Regions from separate parts of the Homo sapiens genome. Here region 2 is linked to region 1. The links are contacts of gene promoters, found by promoter capture Hi-C in human tissues and cell types (Jung and others, 2019). All regions are on one chromosome and are shown on one strand. The core of a region is centred on a gene start or on the middle of the fragment in contact, and the rest is flanking DNA. Distances in the headings are between cores, read along the strand shown. Region 1 holds the start of AHRR (aryl hydrocarbon receptor repressor). Region 2 has its middle 6.1 kb from the start of LPCAT1.

Region 1 (6,358 bases), core at 1-2,500:
CTAAGAACCTTTCTCCCGTGGTAAAACTCGTGTCTGTTCATTTTAGAGAATACAGATAAGTAAGAAAACGAAAATAAAAGCCGTTCCCCAGGCGGTGGCGTCCCCCCCGTCGAAGCGGCTCCCCAGGCGGCGGCGTCCGCCGGGTCAGCATCCTACGTTCTCCAGTTCTTGTTACTCGTGGCTTTTCAGCGACTCTGGGGCCGCATCGAGCCCCGGCTTTGTGCGGGATGGGTATGGCACACTCGGCCCGAGTCCAAACGCCGCCAGTCACTTGCTCTGAGAGGCTGGATGAGCGACCTACCTTGATGTCCTCGTTCGTAAAATGGGTGACGGTTGCCAGGCCGGGGCGGCTGTGAGGCCCCGTGGGGGTGGCGTTTGGAGAACGCGCGCACACGCCCACCCTTCTGCAAGAACCCCGCAGACGAGAGCCTGTGCGCGCGCACAGGAGGCCCAGGGAGGAAGCCCCTCCCCGCCTGCCCTTGCCATCCCGGAGGCCACAGCCGGACAGGCCCGTGGGACAGGCCCGTGGGACGCTTCTGCACAAGGTCTCTGACCTCCGGCCTCGCAGAAGAGGTCAGAGGGTGGCCCCTGCCTGTCACGCGCCCATGGCGACCCCTCCCCAGAAGGGGTCCCAGCGTGGACTCCAGGCGCCACATCGCTCTCTCAGGGCATCCGGTCTGGGAATTCTGGCCGCTCAAAATAAGACTTCAGCGCTACTGGGTGCTACTGAAACCAAGCCTGAACATGGGCCTTTCCCGGGGGTGAGGCCCCCCGGACCTGGCGCCCTCGGCCCGACAGCGGGGCCCCGCTCCGCCGCCCGCACCCGCCCAGCCCCAGGGAGCGCGGCCCGCACGGAACGCCCGGGGAGTGAAGGCTCAGAACACTCTCGAGGGGACGCTGAGGACCACGAACCGTGGACGCGCCGCGGCTTCCCTCCGAGGTCCGAGTTTTAAGTGAGACCAGCCAGCCGCACCCCAGAGTGTCCGCCCCGTCCCGGGGCCGCCGGGCCTGGCGACGCGAGGATGCGGCGTGAGGAGGGTCCCGACGCCGGCGCCCGTCCCTCAGCCCCACACCCGGGAGCGCATCCCGTCTCCACCGCGGGCGGCACGCGGCGGGGGCCTGCGGGGGCGCCCAGGACACTTACCCAGGGCCTGCGGGGCGCGGAGGCTCAGGCACACCCGCGGGGCAGCGCGCCCTGGCCAGGAGCTGTGGCGGCGGGTGCCGGCGCTCGCATCCCGGGAACCCGCGGCGGCTCCAGGGACTGCCCCACCCCGGCACGCGAGCCGCCCGCCCCGCCCCGCAGCATCCAGGGCCGGGAGGCGGCAGAGGGCGCCCGCGGGTCCGGCTGTCTCGGGTCCGGCTGCCCCAGCTGCCCTGGCGAACCGGAGACGCCATCCGGTTCCCCTGGGGTCCGCCCTGCGCCCTTCGCGTCCCAGTGATCCCCCGGAGTCTCCGTGCCCCGAGGCGGGGGTCGCGCGCTGAGCCCCTCCAGGCCCTGCGTTCCCCCTGGGGTCTGTGTGCGCCCAGGGTCCCCCGGTTCTCCCTGCGCCCCCGTCCCCTCCCCAGCGCTCGCGGCCGGCTGTGCTGAGCTGCCGGCCCTAGAGCCGGGCGGTGTAGACCCGAACAGGTAAAGTGAGGAGAGCGTGTGCCCCCTCGCCTGCCCCATGAGGTCGTTTCGAAAATGTAAAAGGAGTCATGGTTTTTGGCGAATTATAGAGAATATTAAGATGCTTTTGGATCCTGAGCTTCCCAGGAAGCGGACGCGCGCCAGGCACGGCAGGGTCGTCCGTGCGACGTTCTTCGTCCTGGGCATTTCAGGGTCCCACGCGGCAGGTGTGCGGCCCTGGGTGCCCCTGCCCCGCCCACCCCGCCGGTCGGCACCCGGGACCGCGCGGCCGAGAGCAGGGTCCTGCCTGCAGGTCCTTAGGGCTCACCCCGCGCCCTCTGCGCGCCCGCCGGCCCCTCCGACCTCGGGCTGCGCCTTCTCCTTCCCCCTCCCGGTGGTCCTTGGCCCCCTCTAGTCCTCCGTCCGGGCGCGCAGGCCCTGGCTGAATTCCCTGTACCCTCAGGGGATCCCTGGGGACACCTCAGCCTGGCCTCGCACCCTGACGTCTCCACAGACCCTGGCCGGCTTCCACCCGTTCTCGCCCTCGCTGGGGCCGGCCATGGAGTCGGTGGTCCCTGGAGTCCGCTCCTCAGCATCCGCGGTCCTCATCCCAGCCGGGGGAACCGCGCCCTCTTCATCCCGCAAGGTCGGTTTTCAGCAACGCGGCCGAGGCTGTCACTGGCGCCCCCAGGTTCTCAGTCAAACCCCGTCTCCCTGACGCCCCCAACCCGCCCCGCGCCTCCTGCTGTTCTCTGAATAAGGCGTGCGGGCCTTGGGGCCTTTGCACTCGCTGTCTGCTGTCGGCTCAGGAAAAGTCTCTTTTCCAGACACAGCTCCCAAGGTGGGGTGGGCGCAGCTGAGAAGCCCACCCTGCCCCCAAGTGGCCACCGCCCCTCCCCGGGTGTAGCTCCTGCAGGGCAGCCCAGAATTGCTGAGTTCTGCCGCTCTGTCCCCAGGGGTCACCAAGTCGGCTCTGCTCACCTCTGGTTCCTGTCGAATAGCAGAGGCTCAAAAATGTGAGCTGAGTAAATGGGCTTTTTTGGGACAGAGTCTTGCTTTGTCACCCAGGCCTGAGAGCAGTGGTGCGATCTCAGTTCACTGCAGCCTCTGCCTCCAGGGCTCAAGCGATTCTCGTGCCTCAGCCTCCCAAGTAGCTGGGATTACAGTCGCGCGCCACCACACCTGGCTAATTTTTTTTTTTTTTTAAGTAGATAGTGGTTTTGCCATCTTGGCCAGGCTGGTCTCGAACTCCTGACCTCAGGTGATCCACCCACCTCGGCTTGCCAAAGTGTTGGGATTACAGGCATGAGCCACTATGCCACTGAGACAGCCAGGAGCCCTGGGTGCACACATTTATTTTTTGATATGGAACAATGTGCAACTATATTGCTGTATTTTTAAAAATCATTAGTTTTATCTTGATCCAATTTTTGTAAAGTGAATTATGCACAGAAAATGTGTAGCTGGATAACTCTGAGGTAACAGGTGAACTTTAATTTCTTTTTACTTTTTGAAAAGTCTACAATTCCTGTAAATTTTTGCAAGAAGCACATAGTACCTTTGTGATCTGTTAAAATAAGAACCTGTGGGTAGAATGTGATGGTGGTGAGCCGCAGTCCCCCTGCATGGGAAGACAGCACCCCCATGTCTCAGGGCAAGCACGGGTTCCCTTCCACCTACCCTGTCCCACCAGAACCAACTGGAATGAGACACTTTGTTACTCTATTTCCTGGGTACAGAAGGAAACTGCTCCTCCTTCCTTCCCACTGCCCTTGACCGGCACAGGCCATCCACGCCCACCTGTCCCCTGTGCTTGTCCCCAAAGTCTCAGGTCTCTGCAGGACCTGGGGCAGCCAGTGGGACTGTGCAGAAAAAGGATGACCCTGCCGTGGGAGCCACTGCCCCTAAAGTCTCAGGGTTTAGCAGGCAGAGCCCCACGTGGAGTCCTGGAGTCTCTGGGCACCCCACCAGCACAATGGGGGATCCCTGAGCCACCTCCCGTTCAGACGGGCTATTGGGCGTGCCTCCCTCCCCACCACGAAGGTCCAGATGCAGCTGACACCCCCAGTCACAGAGTCTCCTTTCTGCCTCTGTGCTGGGGACCCTGTTCAGGAGGTCTCCTCCCTCCAGTCCGGACTTGCTGTCCCCAGTGTCATTGAACCCTCTGGCTCCCACCCACACTCCCAGCAGCTGGAGACACACCCCTTTCTCCTGGGCCACTGGTCCTCTCGGGACTCTGAACCAGAGGCGCTAACACCTGGCAGGGATGGCAGCTGGGGCAGGACTGGAAGCCTCCGAGGACCCACCCCCAGCTCCGGGTACCCCCACACTGGAGTCTGGTGCGGTGGGTCCCCAGAGCCATATGAGCTGGACTTGGCCTCCAGTGGACCGCCACATGGCAGGTGCCCACGGCCGGCTGCAGCGCCAGGCCCCTCCCAAACAGGCCCAAGTTGGCTTCACAGAAGTGTGGGGGCAAAGCTGCTCTTCATGGGCCTCCAGGAGTGGTGACTGTGACTGCCCCCTCCTGTCCTCTCCTGGCCACACCTTTGCCTCCCACAGGCAGGCCAGGTCAGGAGCCCCCAGGGCCCTGACCTCAGAGGCAGACAGGGGTGTGCTGACCCCTCGGGCCAGGCCAGGACCCCGCACAGGCGCCTGCGGCTCTCTGGCTCTCTGATGGCGGCTGGGTTTCCCGGGTTCCCCGGGTTCCCCATGACTGCTGTGTCTCCAGCGTTGATGCCTCACAGGGAGCCGCTTGGGCAGCCCTGGTCACGCCTGGGTTCCCTCTCTCTCCCACACCAGTTTCTCCCTGGTCACGCCTGGGTTCCCTCTCCCACACCAGTTTCTCCTGTAGCACAGAGAAGGACCTGGGGAATTTTGTCTTTTGTTAAAAACCACAAGGGAGCTCCCTGCTGGGCACAGTCACGGTGGCGCCCGTCAGAGCTGCTTCCAGGGTGCATTCCATCATTCCAAGTTCACTGTGCTGGAGTCAGCTCTCTGCTTGCCGCAGGGTGAGGGGGGGAGGTGGAGGGTGAGGGGGGAGGTGAAGGATTGGGGGAGGTGCAGGGTTGGGGGGAGATGCAGGGTGGGGGGAGGTAAAGGATGGGGGGAGGTGCAGGGTTGGGGGGAGATGCAGGGTGGGGGGAAATAAAGGATGGGGGGAGGTGCAGGGTTGGGGGGAGATGCAGGGTGGGAGGGAGGTAAAAGATGGGGAGAGGTGCAGGGTAAGGGTGGGAGGTGCAGGGTGCGGGGGGGAGGTGGAGGGTGAGGGGGGAGATGAAGGGAGGGGGGAGGTGAAGGATTGGGGGAGGGAAAGGATGGGGGGAGGTGCCAGGTGAGGAGGGAGGTGAAGGATGTGGGGAGGTGCAGGGTTGGGGGGAGATGCAGGGTTGGGAGTAGGTGGAGGGTGAAGGGGGGAGGTACAGGATGGGGGGAGGTGCAGGGTGAGGGGCAGGTGCAAGGTGAGAGGGGAGTTGAAGGGTTGTTGGGGGAGGTGCAGGGTTGTGGCGGGGAGGTGCAGGGTGGCTGTTGGGGGAGGTGCAGGGTTGTCCGGGGAGGTGTAGGGTTGTGGGGGGAGATCAGGGTAGGGAGGGTGGGGAGGCATGGGCCAGGGGCCCCAGGTGAGGGTGTACGGCGTGCACCTGCACCTCCATGTCTGCACTGATGACTGAGGACCCAGAGCGGGGGGAAGGAGAGGCCCCCAGAGATGGCTGTGCCCCCATGTCCTGCTGTCTTGGGTCTTGGGACCGGGGTCGTGACGCTGAGGGTCCCTGGTGGGTGGTCGTGGCCGCTGGCCTGGCCTGGCCTCCGCGACCCAGCCTCACCACACTGGGCCTGCGCCAGGCACCTGGTCAGCTGTCCACCCCCTCCACCCCCAAACCCAGGCTCTGAAGGGTCACAGGGCACAGCCTGCCTGACAAGGGAGAGCTGAAAGGGCGAAGGCCCGTCTCTCTGTAGTCTTCTCTCTGCGGCTATAAATCCCATGGCTGTGTCGGGCAGGTCCTCCCGGTCAGTCAGCAGCTCCCGAGAGCTCCGTGGTGCAGCCGCACTGCCCCCACGTGGCCCAGGCTGTGTGCAGCTGCCTGGCCCTTGGGGCCTCAGAGTGCAGTGAGGTTTAGCTCAGGGGCTTCCCTCACCCAGGAAGGCGTGGGTGGCCTCCCTGCAGGCGCCTGAGGATGGGGTCTGTGCTGGCAGTGTGGCTGGGCAGGGGGCACGGCAGCCCTGCTTCCCTGCGGGTTGGCACCCCCTCCACAAGGAATCCACCACAACTCGTGAGCTCACTGCCCTCCAGGGACCCCCAGTTTTGTATCAGTGACTCCGGCCAGGAGAGCAGGGGAGTCCCCCCTCCACACCTTCTGCTTCGAGAGGCTCCTCACCGCCTCCCTCCCTTGACTTCTGATGGCTGGGAGCTCCCCGGGGAAATGTCCCTCCCAACAGCCACAGCCCACCAGCCCAACAGGCTCTCTGCATCCAGGGGTTCCTTTGCCAGCAGGCCGGCCTGACATGCGTTTGTCCAGCGCTCTACCCCTGCTGGTCCTCCAAGCGTGTGGTGCAGCGGCCCCACCGCCCTCCTCACCCTCTGCTGAAGAACTTCTGCTCTGGAATTTTCAGCGGCTTTTGTTCTTGTGAGTCTTCATGGAGGCCCCTCTCCAAGGCAGCCTCCCCGAGCTGCCTGCAAACAGGAGCCCCCATGGCAGCCACGTGCAGAGTACCTGAGGGTACCTGCACCACACACCTGAGTGTACCTCACACCTG
Region 2 (6,358 bases), core at 2,793-5,292, 1.2 Mb before region 1:
ATAATAACTATGTTTCCTATCTTAAATACAGTGGCAATTTCATAGGGTGTGTGTGTGTGTGTGTGTGTGTGTGTGTACATATATATGTGTGTATATATAAAAACAGCAAAATGTCCACTTTAAATTTATGTGGTTTATTATATATCAATTATAATTCAATAAAGTCATGATAAAAAGGAAATAATGACTATTAGTTTTCTAAATTTTATTAAAAGTATAAACCCATAAATCAAAGAAGCTCAGTGATTTCTCACACACAGGTACATCATAACTGATTTGCAGGAAAACAGTAATAAAGACAAAATTTCAAAAGCAAATAAATATACAAACAAAATAAAAACTTGTTGAGTTAGAATTCTATATTTATCAGGGGAAAAATCCTACAAAACGAAGGTAAAATAAAAAAGTTTTTTATACAGATCAAATCCAAAAGATTAGTTGCAAACAGCTCTGCACTGCAAAAAAATTAGTAAAATTTCTTCAGAAGGCAGAAAAGTGATACAAGAAGGAAACTCAAATCTCAAGAGAGCAATGAAAGTGCTTGAAATGGCAAACATACAGATAAATACAAAAACCTCTTAATTTTTTTAAAATCGCTTGAAAAGACTTTGTTCAAGACAAAAAAATTATATATTGTGGGGCCTACAGCATATATAAGAGTGAAATGTATGAAAGCACTAGCTTAAAGGATGAAAAGGGAAGTGGAAGTGTAATACTGCAAAGGTCTTCAATTATATGTGAAGCAGTGTATTATTTAAAATGTCTTCCAATAATACACATATTAATAGCAGATACTAAAAAGTTAAAACAAAGAGGTATAGCTGATGAGCCAATGGTGGAGATAAAATACTAAATTAATCTAGAAGACTGCAGTTAAAGAGTAAACCAAAAGACCAGATAAGACAACAGAAAACAAATAGCAAGGTTGTATATTTAAATCTAACCATATTAACACATCAAATATGGATGATCTAAACATGCCTATTAAAAGACAAAGATTTTAAGATTAGATAATAAAGCAAGATCCAACTCTATGCTGTATACAAGAAACCTTCTTCAAATATAAAGCCACAGAAAGATTAAAAGGATGGAAAAATATGCCACGCAAACACTAAACATAAGAAATCTGGAGTGACTATGTGAATATCAGACAAAGTGGACTTCAGAACAAGAAATGTTACCAGAGGCTGGGCGCAGTGGCTCACACCTGTAATCCCAGCACTTTGGGAGGCTGAGGCAGGTGGATCACAAGGTCAGGAGTTCAAGATCAGCCTGACCAACATGGTGAAACTCCACCTCTACTAAAAATACAAAAATTAGCTGGGCATGGTGGTGCGCACCTGTAATCCCAGCTACTCGGGAGGCTGAGGCAGGAGAATCACTTGAAGCCAGGAGGTGGAGGTTGCAGTAAGCCGAGATTGTGCCACTGCACTCCAGCCTGGGCGATAGACTGACTCTGTCCCAAAAAAAAAAAGAAAAGAAAAAAAAAAAAAAGAAATGTTACCAGAGTAAAAGAGAGACATAACATAATGATGGAAAGGTTGATTCACCAGGAAGACAGAATAATTTCAAATATATATGTACCTAATAACATAGCTTCAAAATATACGAAGCAAAGACTAACAGTATTGAAAGGTGAAATAAACAAATCCACAATTATAGTTGGTCTTTCAGTCATTCATATAACAGTAACAGAAAAGCACAAAGATACAGGAAGCTTGAACAAAACTATCAACCAATGGAGTCAACTGGCATTCATAGAACACTCCACACAAAAACAAGAGAACCTTTTCTTATAATATACACCTGAACAGTCATAAACACAGACTATAAAAGGATTGAAATCATACAGAGTATGTATTGTGACCACAAATAAGTTATAATAAAAATTAACTGGAAATTCTCCAAATATTTGGAAGTTAACACATAACAAAAAAGCCACAGTAATCAAAGAAGAAACCACATGGGAAAAGAGAAAGTACATTGAAAACTGAAAGAAAATGAAAAATCAGCATGCCACCATTTGTGGAATGTAGATATGGCAGAACTTAGAAGGAAATTTGTGGTATTACATGAGGCAGGTCTAAAATCAATGGTCTATACTTCCTACTTAGGGAAGTAGGAACAGAAGAGCAAATTAAACCTAAAATAAGGAGAGAAAAGAAAATGATAAAGACAGAAATCAACAAAAATAGAAAACAGAAAAATAATAGGAAAAAATCAATGAATTCAAAAGGCAGCTATTTCTAAAGATCAATAACAAAATACACCTCTAGCCAAAGTGATCAAGAAAAAGGAAGAAGACACAAATTACCAATATTATAAACGTGAACAAGGGCTATCAGTCTAGATCCTATAGATATTAAAAGGATAAAAGGGATTATGATAAACAATTTTATGCCAATAAATCAATAACTTAGATAAAACGGACAAATTCCTGGAAATATCTAAATTACTAAAAAAATTTAGGTTTTTAGATGGAAGAAATAGAAAAGATGAATAACACCTATCTAATGAAGCACTCAAATTCATAATCTTTAAATCTTTCTGAAAAAGAAAATTCTCATTCCAGATAGCTTCCCTGATGAACTCTAACAAACATTTAAGGAAGATATAATACCAACCCTACTCACTCTTTACTTAGAAATAGAGAATTTGGAATACTTCCTAACTCATGTTTTAAAGACAGTATTATCCTCATTAGAAATCAGGCAAAGACATTATAAGAAAGGGAAACTACGGCCAATATTTCTTATGAACATAGACACAAACATCTTTAACATAAATTTATCAATTTAAATTCGGTAATAAATCAATCGTGTAGTATGGTTAAGTGAGGCCTATCCAGAAAAACAAGGTTGGTTTAAAATCAGAATATGAACCAATTCAATTCACCATATTCACAGGATTAAGAAGAAAATTTTAAGATAATCTCAATAGACGCGAGCAAGCTTTTTGGCCAAAATGATAAAAACTACTCAGTAAACTAGCAATAGAAGGGAACACCCTCATCCTTTTTCAGGGCATCTGTGAAAACCCACAGCTCATGTCAAGACTGGGCACTGGGTACTAACAATCCCCAAGATTGTTAACAAGACAAGATGCCCAGTCTCAGCACTCTGTCCAACATTCTGTAGAGGATGTCACAGTCAGTGGAACAAGAGGAAATGCAAACAACGAAAGGCATACGTGTTGCTGGTGAAGGAAGAAATAAAGCTCCTTATTTACAGGTATTATGATTGTGAAATGGGGAAAATCCTAAAGAATCTACAAAAAAAGTCACTAGAACTAATAAATGAATTTAGCAAGGTTAATGCCTACAAAGTAAATACATAAAATCAGTTGTAGTTCTATATACGAGCAACACACTTCTGGAAATTGAAATTAAGAAGCAGTATCATTTATAACAGCATCAAAACATGAAATAGGAACAGAATTCGAAAACCTATGTAAGACCTATGCAGTGAAAATTATAAAACATTGCTGAGGGAAATTAAAGAAAACCTAAATAAATGATCTGTATACCATGCTCATGGATGGATAACTCAATATTGCTAAGATGGCAATTTTCCCAAATTGATCAATAGATTCAACACAATCTCATTAAAAATCCCACCAACCTTTTGTTTGTTTGTTCCTGGATACTTCAGTTTCTTGACAAAATGATTCTAAAATTTTGGCTGGGCATGGTGGCTCACACCTGTCATCCCAGCACTTTGGGAGGCCAAGGCGGGCAGATTACCTGAGGTCAGGAGTTCGAGACCAGCCTGGCCAACATGGTGAAACCCCGTCTCTACTAAAAAATATAAAAATTAGCTGGGCGTGCTGGTGCATGCCTGTAGTCCCAGCTACTCCGAAGGCTGAGACAGGAGAATCGCTTGAACTCAGGAGGCGGAGTCTGCAGTGAGCCGAGATCGGGCCACTGCACTCCAGTGCAGTGCAGTCTAATTTCAAGACTAATATAAAGCTTTAGTAATCAGTATAGTGTGATGTTGGCAGTTGCAGATGTACAGATCCATGGAACAAAATACAGAGTCCAGGAATAGACTCAACTATACATATATGGCCACTTAATTTTTTTACAAAGTTGTCAAGGTAGTTCAATGGAGAAAGAATATTCTCTTCAACAAATGGTGCCGAAACAGTTGAATATTCAGACGAAAACATTTGAAACTAAAAAACCTCTGCCTCCACTTTACTTTATGCCGTGTACAAATGTCAACTTGAAATGGAATACAGACCTAAATGGTAAAGCCAAAACTGTAAAACTTCTGAAGTAAGAAAATCTGAATGACCTTGATGCAGGTAAATATTTATAAAAGAGGATACCAAAACCATGATCCCTAAAAGAAAACGCTGATAAATTGGACTTCATCAAAATTTAAAATATCTGCTCTTTGAAAGACACTATCACTGCTTAACAAACCATCTCAGTCTGTAGTGACTGAAAACCACCACAATTTTCTGTTTGTCATGATTGTGGGTTGAATAGGAAGTCCATCCATTGTACATGATGGAGTCCCTCACTCTGGGGCTGTGCACTCCTCATCTGGAACATCCACAGGTCCTCTTGTACCCTGGGGTCTGTCTTCATACAACCTCTACACAAGCAGTAGTGGTTCTCCATATAATCCATACTGTCAAGAGTAATTTTTTTTTTTGAAAGAGAGTCTCGCTCTGTTCTTGCCCAGGCTGGAGTACAGTGGCGTGATCTTGGCTCACTGCAACCTCTGTCTCCCAGGTTCAAGCAATCCTCCTGCCTCAGCCTCCCGGGTAGCTGGGACTACAGGCGTGTGCCACCACACCTGGCTAATTGTCATATTTTTAGTAGAGATGGGGTTTTGCCATGTTGGCCAGGCTGGTCTCGAACTCCTGACCTCAGATGATCCGCCCACCTCGGCGTCCCAAAGTGCTGAGATTACAGGCATGAGCCACCGCGCCCGGCCCAAGAGTAATTTTTGAAACGATTATTACATCACTGCAGAAGTATGAAGCATCAAGGAATTAACAAAAATACAGAATCTTTATGTAGAAAAATTTAAAATGCTATCAAAGGGCATGAAAGAACATCTAAATAAATGGTAGAATAACCATGTTGGTGAAAAATCGTTCTCAAAATTATAAAGTGTCCATGCCACATCATCCATTTAAAAAATTTTTTTTTTGTATTTTCTAGTGCTTTGAAGCCTTGGAGCCTTGGAGCCTTGCTGGCCCTTCGAGGGCCCCTCCCAGGACCAGCCAGCTCTTACTGAAGTAACATTCTTAGGGAACAGGGAGAATGAACAGTAAGAATGAAGTAACATTCTTACTGAAGTACCCTGTACAATTAATGTGATTCAAAAGGAAGCTTCCAGCGGGAATTTTTAGCAATGGGGACAACTGCTTCCAAAATTTGGATGGAAAAATAAAATTCCCTGAATTCCTACTACAATTCTTGGGAAGAAGCGCCAACAGGAAGGAACCCCCTCTACAGTTACTAAGGCAGACGGTTGAAAGGTGTGAGACAGGAGTAAAGGAGTACGCGGACCGGCGGGTGAGACGGGAGTAAAGGAGTACACGGACCAATGGGTGAGATGGGGCAGCCAGAAGGAGCTTCAGGAACCCTTCTTTCTGTTCATGCTGGAAGTGGACCCACAAGTGGGAGTCTGTGATTGATACGTGGTGTTGAGAATATCAGGTCTCCATGCAGAGAAAAAAATCTTCAAATAGAATAAAATGCAACCATGAAAGGCAGAACTGAAAAAAGATGTTAGTAGAAAATGAAGGAGAATATCTTTTTCTATCCTATAGATAACTCTAAAATTCAAAAATTAAACAAACAAAACAAAAATACTCAGCCTTACCAGAACAAGCAGGTACCTTGTGTTCTCAATGCACTTGGAGTATAGGAAACACTTCTCTGTGAGCTTACACTCTTAAAACAGAGACAAAACCAGAGCAAGAAGCCTCAGGGGTGTGGTTACCAGCCCCAGGGAGCTGTGGGGGGCTTCCAGGAGGTTCCTGAGAACCACAGTGGGGGCTCCCTTTGTAGCTAAAGGGCCCTTAGGGTGGTTTTCCCAAAACTAAGTCCTAATGAGAAACTCATGTTTCCCCTGCTAGACAGAGAAAACTGCTTATACCTCCCCACCCAAGACCAACTTCTCTTAGTCAAGCTTCCAGACCCTCCAGGTCTTAAGAACGTTCCATTACATAGCAGAACCAAAGCCTAAGTGTGAAGGCCCAGTGTGGGTGGAGGAATTTCCTTGCTGCTCCTCCACGCTTGCGCTGATTTCCCCATAAGCAGCCCCTCTCCCCCACCCCTCGCAGTCCCCAGGAGAAAACTGACTCCCACACACAAGAGTGCCCCAGCTCCCCACCC

What was found. Contacts are between HindIII fragments. The study calls those that stand out against the background at their distance.
Region 2: a fragment that was not itself captured here is called in contact with the fragment with the promoter of AHRR in region 1 in 2 of the 25 tissues and cell types used here (dorsolateral prefrontal cortex and lymphoblastoid cells).

The regions. Positions count from the first base shown.
Region 1 is chr5:316,606-322,963 of GRCh38, reverse strand. AHRR (aryl hydrocarbon receptor repressor) reads right to left here and starts at 1,250. Exons shown (of 11, transcript NM_001377236.1): 1 at 1,145-1,250. All of the region lies in intron 3 of PDCD6-AHRR (PDCD6-AHRR readthrough (NMD candidate)), which reads right to left. RefSeq lists enhancers at 239-358, 447-1,014, 4,148-4,447 and silencers at 599-658, 669-1,048, 1,139-1,628, 1,779-2,038. The HindIII fragment of the contact is 29,634 bases long and covers 1-6,358 here.
Region 2 is chr5:1,526,909-1,533,266 of GRCh38, reverse strand. No RefSeq gene overlaps it. Among named protein-coding and RNA genes, the nearest start is that of LPCAT1, 6.1 kb to the right of the region's middle. The HindIII fragment of the contact is 3,416 bases long and covers 2,335-5,750 here.